Regions from separate parts of the Homo sapiens genome. Here region 2 is linked to region 1. Evidence: promoter capture Hi-C in 16 types of primary human blood cells and fetal thymus (Javierre and others, 2016). All regions are on one chromosome and are shown on one strand. Each heading gives the region's core, a stretch centred on a gene start or on the middle of the fragment in contact. The rest is flanking DNA. Distances are from core to core; before and after follow the strand shown.

The links. The method cuts DNA at HindIII sites, captures the fragments that hold promoters and counts their contacts. A CHiCAGO score of 5 or more calls a contact.
Region 2: a fragment that was not itself captured here is called in contact with the fragment with the promoter of DDIT3 in region 1 in 1 of 17 cell types (monocytes); the score reaches 5.4 in monocytes.

What each region holds. Positions count from the first base shown.
Region 1 is chr12:57,517,103-57,521,826 of GRCh38, reverse strand. It overlaps DDIT3 (DNA damage inducible transcript 3), which reads left to right and starts at 1,313. Exons shown (of 4, transcript NM_004083.6): 1 at 1,313-1,409; 2 at 4,074-4,121; 3 at 4,389-4,558; 4 at 4,647-4,724. The coding sequence starts at 4,421. LOC128125814 reads left to right here and starts at 1,347. Exons shown (of 2, transcript NM_001414991.1): 1 at 1,347-1,409; 2 at 4,074-4,115. The coding sequence starts at 1,347. The coding sequence ends at 4,115. It overlaps MIR616 (microRNA 616), which reads left to right and starts at 2,568; the gene lies at 2,568-2,664. It also overlaps a transcript of MBD6 not described here. RefSeq lists enhancers at 1-555, 556-1,515, 342-1,541, 1,416-1,545, 1,516-2,477 and a silencer at 886-1,345. The HindIII fragment of the contact is 9,909 bases long and covers 1-4,724 here.
Region 2 is chr12:56,315,048-56,319,486 of GRCh38, reverse strand. It overlaps PAN2 (poly(A) specific ribonuclease subunit PAN2), which reads left to right. Exons shown (of 26, transcript NM_014871.6): 23 at 1-179; 24 at 306-399; 25 at 1,053-1,250; 26 at 1,844-2,551. The coding sequence ends at 1,878. It overlaps CNPY2 (canopy FGF signaling regulator 2), which reads left to right and starts at 3,499. Exons shown (of 6, transcript NM_014255.7): 1 at 3,499-3,666; 2 at 4,245-4,357. The coding sequence starts at 4,270. RefSeq lists enhancers at 3,146-3,295, 3,376-3,425, 2,926-3,514. The HindIII fragment of the contact is 2,294 bases long and covers 104-2,397 here.

The DNA of each region.
Region 1 (4,724 bases), core at 64-2,563:
TGAGACTCCGCTGTAAATCTCGACCCGAACACCTAGGAGGCAGGCCTGTGCCGCGCTCCTCACACAGGGAGTCACAGGACTTGCTGTCTGGTACAGCAAGAGAGGGTCTTGGAGAAAGCCATAGGAGTACCGTGGGGGAAAATAGGTGGCCAAACAGAATCGGGTCCACTGGGCAAAATACATGACTTCTGGCAGGCTGAGGGCTTACCAACTACAAGGTAAAAGTCAAGGGCGCTGTTCTGAGAGAAGCGGAAAATGACTACCAAGGGATTCCAGTACCTCGGCCCCTTTTGGGAGATTTACGGGGCTAGAACAGGAGACCACCCCCGTTTTTTTGTTTGTTTGTTTTGTTTTTTGTTTTTGGTGAAACGTAGTCTCGCTCTGTCACCCAGGCTGGAGTGCAGTGGCGCGATCTCGGTCACTGCAACATCCGCCTCCAGGGTTCAAGCGATTCTTCTGCCTCTGCCTCCAGAGTAGCTGGGATTACAGGCGCGCATCACCACACCCGGCTAATTTTTGTATTTTTAGTAGAGACGGGGTTTCACCATGTTGGTCAGGCTGATCTCGAACTCCTGACCTCAAGTGATCCGCTCTCCTCAGCCTCCCAAAGTGCTGGGATTACAGGCGTAAGCCACTGAGCCCGGCCAGGAGACCTCTTTAAGAAGACTCGAGATGTCGACAATCCCAGTGGATGGATACCAACTTTAAAAAGAAAAGTTCAAAAGGCCTATGTGCCCATTAGCTGGGAGGGGCCAAGAAATATGGGAGTCCCTTATAGTGGGGGTAAAACGGCGGGTAAAGCTAGGTGGGCGGAACAGCAGCTTCTGGGGGAGACAAGCGGCAAAGAGGCTCACGACCGACTAGGGGCGACCAAGGCTGATAGCCGTTGGGGCCGTTGGGCGCCGGGAGCTGGCGCCCCGCCCTCTCTCCTCTCCCCCACCCTCCGCACCTCCCACCACCCTCGGTGTCCCCTGCGCGTGCGCGTGCAGACACCGGTTGCCAAACATTGCATCATCCCCGCCCCCCTTTCCTCCCCTCCCCCCCCGCTACACTCCCCTCCGCGCGCGCGCATGACTCACCCACCTCCTCCGTGAAGCCTCGTGACCCAAAGCCACTTCCGGGTCCGACACTACGTCGACCCCCTAGCGAGAGGGAGCGACGGGGGCGGTGCCGCGGGGCTCCTGAGTGGCGGATGCGAGGGACGGGGCGGGGCCAATGCCGGCGTGCCACTTTCTGATTGGTAGGTTTTGGGGTCCCGCCCCTGAGAGGAGGGCAAGGCCATGGTAAAAGATTACAGCCAGGCGCTCCCGAGGTCAGAGACTTAAGTCTAAGGCACTGAGCGTATCATGTTAAAGATGAGCGGGTGGCAGCGACAGAGCCAAAATCAGAGCTGGAACCTGAGGAGAGAGGCGAGTACTGATTCCCATCTACCTTTTACCCTCCCGTCTCCTCAAAGTTGGGGCGTCCGCTCTTTAGGATCGGCCTCACTCCTCCACAGTGAAGTTAGGGACCGTCCGAGAGAGGAATGGGGAGAGTCCCTTATTCTGGGGTGGTGCTTACAAACCCCTATTGCTTCGGACGACGGCGTCTCTCCACCCCTGCCCGGAGCCGGAACACGGGCCCTGCTCTGTGCTGCTGGGCAAAGGGACCTCGGTTGCCCTTGGGAAATTCATTCTTTCCCGTAGCCAACTTCAGGCCTCATCGTTAGGCCTGTCCGCGGGGAGGCAGGTCAGCAGGACACACCCCCGCTCTAAGACTGGGTGACCATCGCTCAGGCCGTTTCCGCCGCTTCGCCACCAGCGGGCCTTCTCCCTACCCCACCCCCAATTCTGTCTCAGTCTCAGTGCCTCTGGTGTCAGCATGGCCACCTTGGTAGCTGGGGCTACTGGACCCTGCAGCGGATAGGGGAACCTTGAGGAGACACAAGCCTTTGGGAGGGGTGCCGATGGACAGGGAGTGGTGTGTTTTCCTTTTGCCGTAGAGGTCTCTGGGCCTCCTGCACAAGAGAGCAGCCTGGATCTCTTAAGTGTAGGAGGCCATTTGGGGTCTCCCCAGGGTATTGTCCTTCCCTCGGGATTAGTCCCTGCCTCTTTAACCCGGTCCTGTCTCCCAGCTAATCTCTGTGTAACCATTGCATCAGGCCAGCCCCGTTTGGCTCTGCAGCCTTCTGACCTGAGGCTCTACTGCTGATGAAAGCCAAGTCCCACACACTGGAAGGCAAGGGAGGGTTCCCCAGGGAGGACAGCCCTGCAGAGAAATACTTCGGGCAATATTGCATCTCTAGCCCCTAGGGATCAGCAGCTGCCACTCTGCTTCTGCCCCTTCCCTATAAGAGAGACTGGGGGGAGTTTATCCATTCATTCTTAACAAATACTTAATGAGGACCTACTGTGTGCCACACAGTTTGGGGCTCAGGGTACATCCTTGAGCAAGAGGAAAAAATCATCTCAGTGGGAGGCCTACAGTAAACAAAATATAAGTGCCACGGAGAAAGCTAAAGCAGAGAAAGGAATGGAGAATGTTCAGGATGGAGGTCAGAGTGTTACATCAGGTGGTCAGGAATTACCTTAGGTAATTCCTCCACTCAAAACCCTTCAGTGACTTCCATGACATGAAATAGGAAGTCATTGGAGGGTTTGAGCAGAGGAATGACCTGTTTTAAAAGGCTCACTCAGGCTGCTGTATGGTGAATAGAGTTGCGGAGGGGTGGCAAGAGAAGAAATGGGAAGACCTTCTGCAGTCAGAAAGTTTCTGCAGTAATTTAGAGATGGTAGTGAATTGATCTAGATTGGAAACAATGGAATTAGAAGTGTTTAGATTCTTCTAAGCAAAGGTTTTAAAAACTCATTTTTAAAGAATGAGTTAAGGGCCGGGCATGGTGGCTCACACCTGTAATCCCAGCACTTTGGGAGACCAGAGGTGGGTGGATCACCTGAGGTCAGGAGTTCAAGACCAGCCTGGCCAACATGGTGAAATCCCATCTTTACTAAAAATACAAAAATTAGCCGGGCATGGCAGTGCATGCCTGTAATCCCAGCTACTCCGGAGGCTGAAGCAGGAGAATCGCTTGAACCCAGCAGGCGGAGGTTGCAGTGAGCCGATTGCGCCACTGCCTTCCAGCCTGGGCAAAAAGAGTGAGACCCGTCTCAGAAAAAAAGGAATGAGTTAAAATTTGCTAGTACTTTGGATTGCAGGGTGTGAGAGAAGAGGAATGAAGGATGATACCAAGGTTTTTAGCTTAAGCAACTAGAGTTGTCATCTGAGATGGGGATGACCTTGGAAGGGGAAAATCAGCAAGAGTTTGCCTTTGCACATAGTCTTAGGTGCCTATTAGACATTGAAAAAGAAATGGCAAGTAGGCAGTAGACAGCAGAGTCTGAAGTTCTGGAAGAGGTCCAGACTGGAAATGTACATTTGGAGGATGTCAGCCCTGTGGGAATGGAGTTAGGAAAATGCTATGATTTGTTCCCTTCCCTGTAGTTTAGTTTTTACCCTGGCAGATTTGAGGCCTGCTTTGGATTTAGAGAAAGCTGAGTTGGCCAGGACTTTACTATTATGTAACCAGGACTACAAATGTCAGCAACTAAAAATAAAGAAAGTCAGGCCCTCTTCTGCCCTTCGAAATGGCTACAGGGACCAAGTATGCATACCCCACAAGACCAGAAGTAAGGAAGGACCAGTAGGAGGCTGGAGGTAAAAGAAAAATAAGGGCCCAGCACGGTAGCTCATGCCTATAATCCCAGCACTTTGGGAAGCGATGGATCACAAGGTTAAGAGATGGAGACCATCCTGGCCAACATAGTGAAACCCTATCTCTGCTAAAAACACAAAAATTAGCTGGGCGTGGTGGCACGCGCCTGTAGTCCCAGCTACTCGGGAGGCCGAGGCAGAAGAATCACTTGAACCGAGGAGGCAGAGGTTGCAGTGAGCCGAGATCGCACCACTGCACTTCAGCCTGGCAACAGAGCAAGACTTGGTCTCAAAAAAAAAAAAAGAAAGAAAAAAAGAAAAAGAAAAGTAAGTTGCCTCTCCCCCTTCCAAAAATGGCTGACATTTCTCTTTGTTGCCCACAGTGTTCAAGAAGGAAGTGTATCTTCATACATCACCACACCTGAAAGCAGGTAAACTTAACCTACCCTTTTCCAAAAATTTTAAACGGCAGGACAGTAAATATTTTAGATGTTAAAAGTCCTATAGTCTCTAGCGTGACTCTTCATCTCTGCCACTGTAGCACCAAAGCAGCCATAAACAATATGTAAATAAACAGATGTGGCTGTATTCCAGTACAACTTTACCTACAAAAACAGGCATCAGACCAGCTTGCCAACTTGTGGCATAGACTGTTTGCTACATGGAGCTTGTTCCAGCCACTCCCCATTATCCTGCAGATGTGCTTTTCCAGACTGATCCAACTGCAGAGATGGCAGCTGAGTCATTGCCTTTCTCCTTCGGGACACTGTCCAGCTGGGAGCTGGAAGCCTGGTATGAGGACCTGCAAGAGGTCCTGTCTTCAGATGAAAATGGGGGTACCTATGTTTCACCTCCTGGAAATGAAGAGGTAAGAATGTTAGCCCTAAAGCTAAAGGGGGATGTTACCTTTCCCTTCTCAACTAATATCTATGTTCCCTTTCCTCATTTCCTTGAAGGAAGAATCAAAAATCTTCACCACTCTTGACCCTGCTTCTCTGGCTTGGCTGACTGAGGAGGAGCCAGAACCAGCAGAG
Region 2 (4,439 bases), core at 1-2,500, 1.2 Mb after region 1:
TGGTGGATTACTTGACTCAATACTCGGGTATAAAGCCTGGTGACCTCGATGCCAAAATTTCCTCCAAGCACCTAACAACTCTCAAGTCTACCTACTTAAAGCTTCGTTTTCTCATTGACATTGGAGTCAAGTTTGTGGGTCATGGCCTGCAGAAGGACTTCCGGGTCATCAACCTGATGGTTTGGCAGGGCTCTTTTAAGAGTCTTCTTGTGAGAGTGGGCCCCTCAGGGTATACATTGTGCCTTTAGAGAATGGGGAATTATAGGTCCCCTACCTTAAGTCTCCCCCTCTTTTATCCTTGCCAGGTGCCCAAGGACCAAGTCCTTGACACTGTCTACCTGTTCCATATGCCCCGAAAACGAATGATTTCCCTGCGATTCCTTGCTTGGTACTTTCTGGGTGAGTTGCTCTGCCTTGTAGGCCCCTGCTACATTAATAGCAGAAGCAGCCATTTAAAAAAAAAGAAATCATGTTCTTTGCGGCAACATGGATGGAGCTGTGGGCCATCATACTAAGTGAACTAACTCAGAAACAGAAAATCAAATACCACATATTCTCACTTATAAGTTGGAACTAAACAATGAGTACATATGGACATAAGAATGACATTAGGGACTCTAAAAGTTGGGGTGGTGGGTGAGGGGTGAGGGTTGAAAATTACGTATTGGGTGCATAGTTCACTATTTGCATATTAGGGATACCAGAAGCCCAGTCCCCACCAGTACACGATACACCCATGTAACAAACATGCACATGTACCCCAAATCTAAAATAAAATTTAAATATAAAAAATAAAAGCATGGGGGGAAAAGAAAAAGTAGGAAAAGTGTTAGAGGACAAAATGGGAGTAGGGGAGACCCTCAGTTAGTGGTGACAGTTACTAATGGATTTAATTAACTTCAATATCCCTTCTGTGCACTGAGGAAGATGTCTGACAATTTTCCTTAAGGGCAGTCAGGCTTTTTAGTTTTCTGGAGTCAGGTAGGAGTGGGGAGACATGTTCCTACCTCCCTTTGCTGGGTCCCAAACTATTCCACCTTTACTTACCCCAGACCTGAAGATTCAAGGGGAAACCCATGACAGTATTGAGGATGCCCGCACAGCCCTTCAGCTGTACCGAAAGTATCTGGAGCTAAGCAAAAATGGCACTGAGCCTGAGTCTTTCCACAAGGTGCTCAAGGGTCTTTATGAGAAGGGCAGAAAGATGGACTGGAAGGTGCCTGAGCCTGAGGGCCAAACAAGTCCCAAGAGTAAGACCTGGGATGGGACAAGGGAAACTGGACTGGGTGGATTTTGTATTTTGTTTGTTTGTGACAGGGTCTCACTCTGTCACCCAGGCTGAAGTGCAGTAGCGTGATTACAGCTCACTGCAGCCTCGACTTCCTGGGCTCAAGTGATTCTCCCACCTCAGCCTCCCAAGTACCTGGGACAACAGGCACACACCACCACACCCAGCTAATTTTTGTACTTTTTGTAGAAACAGGATTTTGCCATGTTGCCCAGGCTGGTCTTAAACTCCTGGGCTCAAGCGATCCACCCACCTTGGGCTCACAAAGTGCTGGGATTACAGGCATGAGCCTGAGCGCCCCCAATTGGGTGGATTTTGATTGCACATATGGAGAATAGCACTTAACAGTTTACAAAGCACTTCATCCTCCTAACATTCAGTAAAATACATTTTATCGAAACTCTCCATTAACTATAACTTCCTCTTGCCCAAGTCTAAAATGTTCAGGGAAGGTCCATGCCCTTTTTTCTCTTGCATTTTTCCTTCATAGGAAGTATGAGAAGATGCTTTTTCTCCACTCAGCTTGAATCATGCTTTTGGTTTTGTCTCTGACAGATGCAGCTGTCTTCTCCTCAGTGCTGGCGCTCTGACTACCCTTCCCAAAGAACCACGGCCCTCTCCCTTTACTGTTCTATAGCCCCAGAACTGGGAGATGGCTTCCTAAGTTGGCTATACCTTGTCCACTTCCAGTACTGGACGTGCTCAGGGTCTAGGGTCACAGATGGTGCTATTAATTGAACTGGAACACAGCAGAATTGTTGCAAAGGTTCTAGGAGCCAGATTCATTCCTTCTTCATTCTTTGCAAAACAGTGGTACAGACATGGAGTCTAGAATTGACCCAGATGGAAAGTAATTGGTATTCTTAATATCCTGGGTGACTAATATCCAGGCAGAGAAGCTCCTGGAACCATAACTGTAAGTTCCTAGCTGGCTAGGGATTGAAGTCCTGGACAGTGACAGAGGATACCACAGTAGTTCAAGACTTAGCACAAGTCACCAACTGCTTCAGGGATACCTGGAGGGGCCAGCAAGTAGAGTGTTGGTGGCCCAAGCAAACCAGTGTTGCCAATACCATTGCCAAAAGGGCCTTTGGATCCTGGACAAAGCTTGGCTGCCGGCTTCATTTATTCCTGCTGATGGCTGAGAAGCATCTGTCTTCCATCCCACTTGCCTGTCCCAAGTTTTGTTCCATTTTTTAAAAATTTGTTGTAAACTGCATGTTTTATAAAATAAAAATAAAATATCGTTTGTTATTTATCTCATTAGAGAACTGCTAGTGTGGGTTCTCTGGCTTCAGTCTTCCTCTCCTTCCTTTGAAGGTAAAGGTCCGGAATCCAAAGTTATGGATATGAAAGGGTATAATTAGGCCGGGCGCGGTGGCTCACTTCTGTAATCCTAGCACTTTGGGAGGCAGAGGTGGGTGGAACACGAGGTCAGGAGTTAAAGACCAGCCTGACCAAGATGGTGAAACCCCGTCTCTACTAAAAATACAAAAATTAGCTGGGAGTGGTGGATGGCGACTGTAACCCTAGCTGAGGCAGAAAATTGCTTCAACCCGGGAGGCGGAGGTTGCAGTGAGCCGAGATCACGCCACTGTATGCCAGCCTGGGCGATAGGGCGAGACTCCGTCTCAAAAAAAGGGGAAAAAGGTATAATTTATGCCTTTTCTGGGCAATGCTGGGTCTTTGCTATAGCTGCCCAGTACCCTAAGTCAGACTGAAGATGTACAGTATGGTTTCCGTTAATTGTGTAAGCCGACAAACTACAGGTCCCAGGATAGCTTGAGACTTGTAGTTGCTCACAAAGATGGGTCCGGTGCTGCGGTGCTTCCTGGGAGATGTAGTTTCCTGTGTATTGAAACCTGGACTGCTCGCTGGCCGGCAGCGCACCGTTTTGAAGGTCCTAGCCCACCTGGGCTGGCTCACGCGCACGACTAGCCGCTCCCATACAGCACGCCCGGACTCTGTCGTCGCTTAAGGCCACTCCTATTCTACGGCTGACCCCTGGTGGTCACGTGGATCTGTTCGCCACGCAAGTCTGGGTCCTTCGGCGATTGACCGGGGTCCTTGCTGTTCGGGAGCCTCTCCTAAGCTGCCTGTTCGCGCGAGAGTTTGGAGGGGCGGGTTTGGGGTCGGTGTCTGATTGGGGCTCGCACCGCAGCACGCTGGAGTCCCGCTTAGGTACCAGTTAGCGTCAGGGGAGCTGGGTCAGGCGGTCGCCGGGACACCCCGTGTGTGGCAGGCGGCGAAGCGCTCTGGAGAATCCCGGACAGCCCTGCTCCCTGCAGCCAGGTGTAGTTTCGGGAGCCACTGGGGCCAAAGTGAGAGTCCAGCGGTCTTCCAGCGCTTGGGCCACGGCGGCGGCCCTGGGAGCAGAGGTGGGACGGATGCGGGCGGCGAGGCGCTGGGCGCTGAGGGTTGGGGATGGACTGAAGCGAAAGCAATGGCGGAGTCCTTAGAAAGGGGGCTGGTGTCCGTACGGGTAATCACTTACGGGCTGGAGGTGGGGACGCAGGAATCTTCGGTGCAGGATCCAAATGGGCCCTAGTTATTGCTCTCCTCGCTGGCCTCCTGGCCTGACTGAGGGCTCCCTGCCGGCAGTTCCCTAGTGCCTGTAGTCCTCACGTAATCGCCAACTTACCTCCTGTAGCTGCCACAAAGCCCCGTGAACCCTAGGCATGCAGTGCTAAAGTACCAACACTTAGGGCCTCACCTATCCACGTAGAGTCTGGGGCTGAGCCGCAAGTCCTGAGCTCGCGCTCCCACCCACCACCCTGGGGGAATCAGAGCCCTCAAGCGCTGGAACAGAGAAGCCCCTTTGTGTCCCGGCCATTTCCTGGAAAGTAGAGCCAGAGTCACAATGAGGCCTTTGAAAGCCTTGGGGTGAGGATTGGGGGGGTCAGGGAAAAATGGAGTCGGCTCCTCACACTTATGTTTTATTCCCACTCAAACCCAGGTGGAGCGACCCCATTACGCTAAAGATGAAAGGCTGGGGTTGGCTGGCCCTGCTTCTGGGGGCCCTGCTGGGAACCGCCTGGGCTCGGAGGAGCCAGGATCTCCACTGTGGAGGTAAAGGCACAACGGGAAAAAGAAGTGGAGGAAGCAGAGCCTTGGGAGGGCATGAGATCCAAGGCCTGGGAGAAGGATGAAT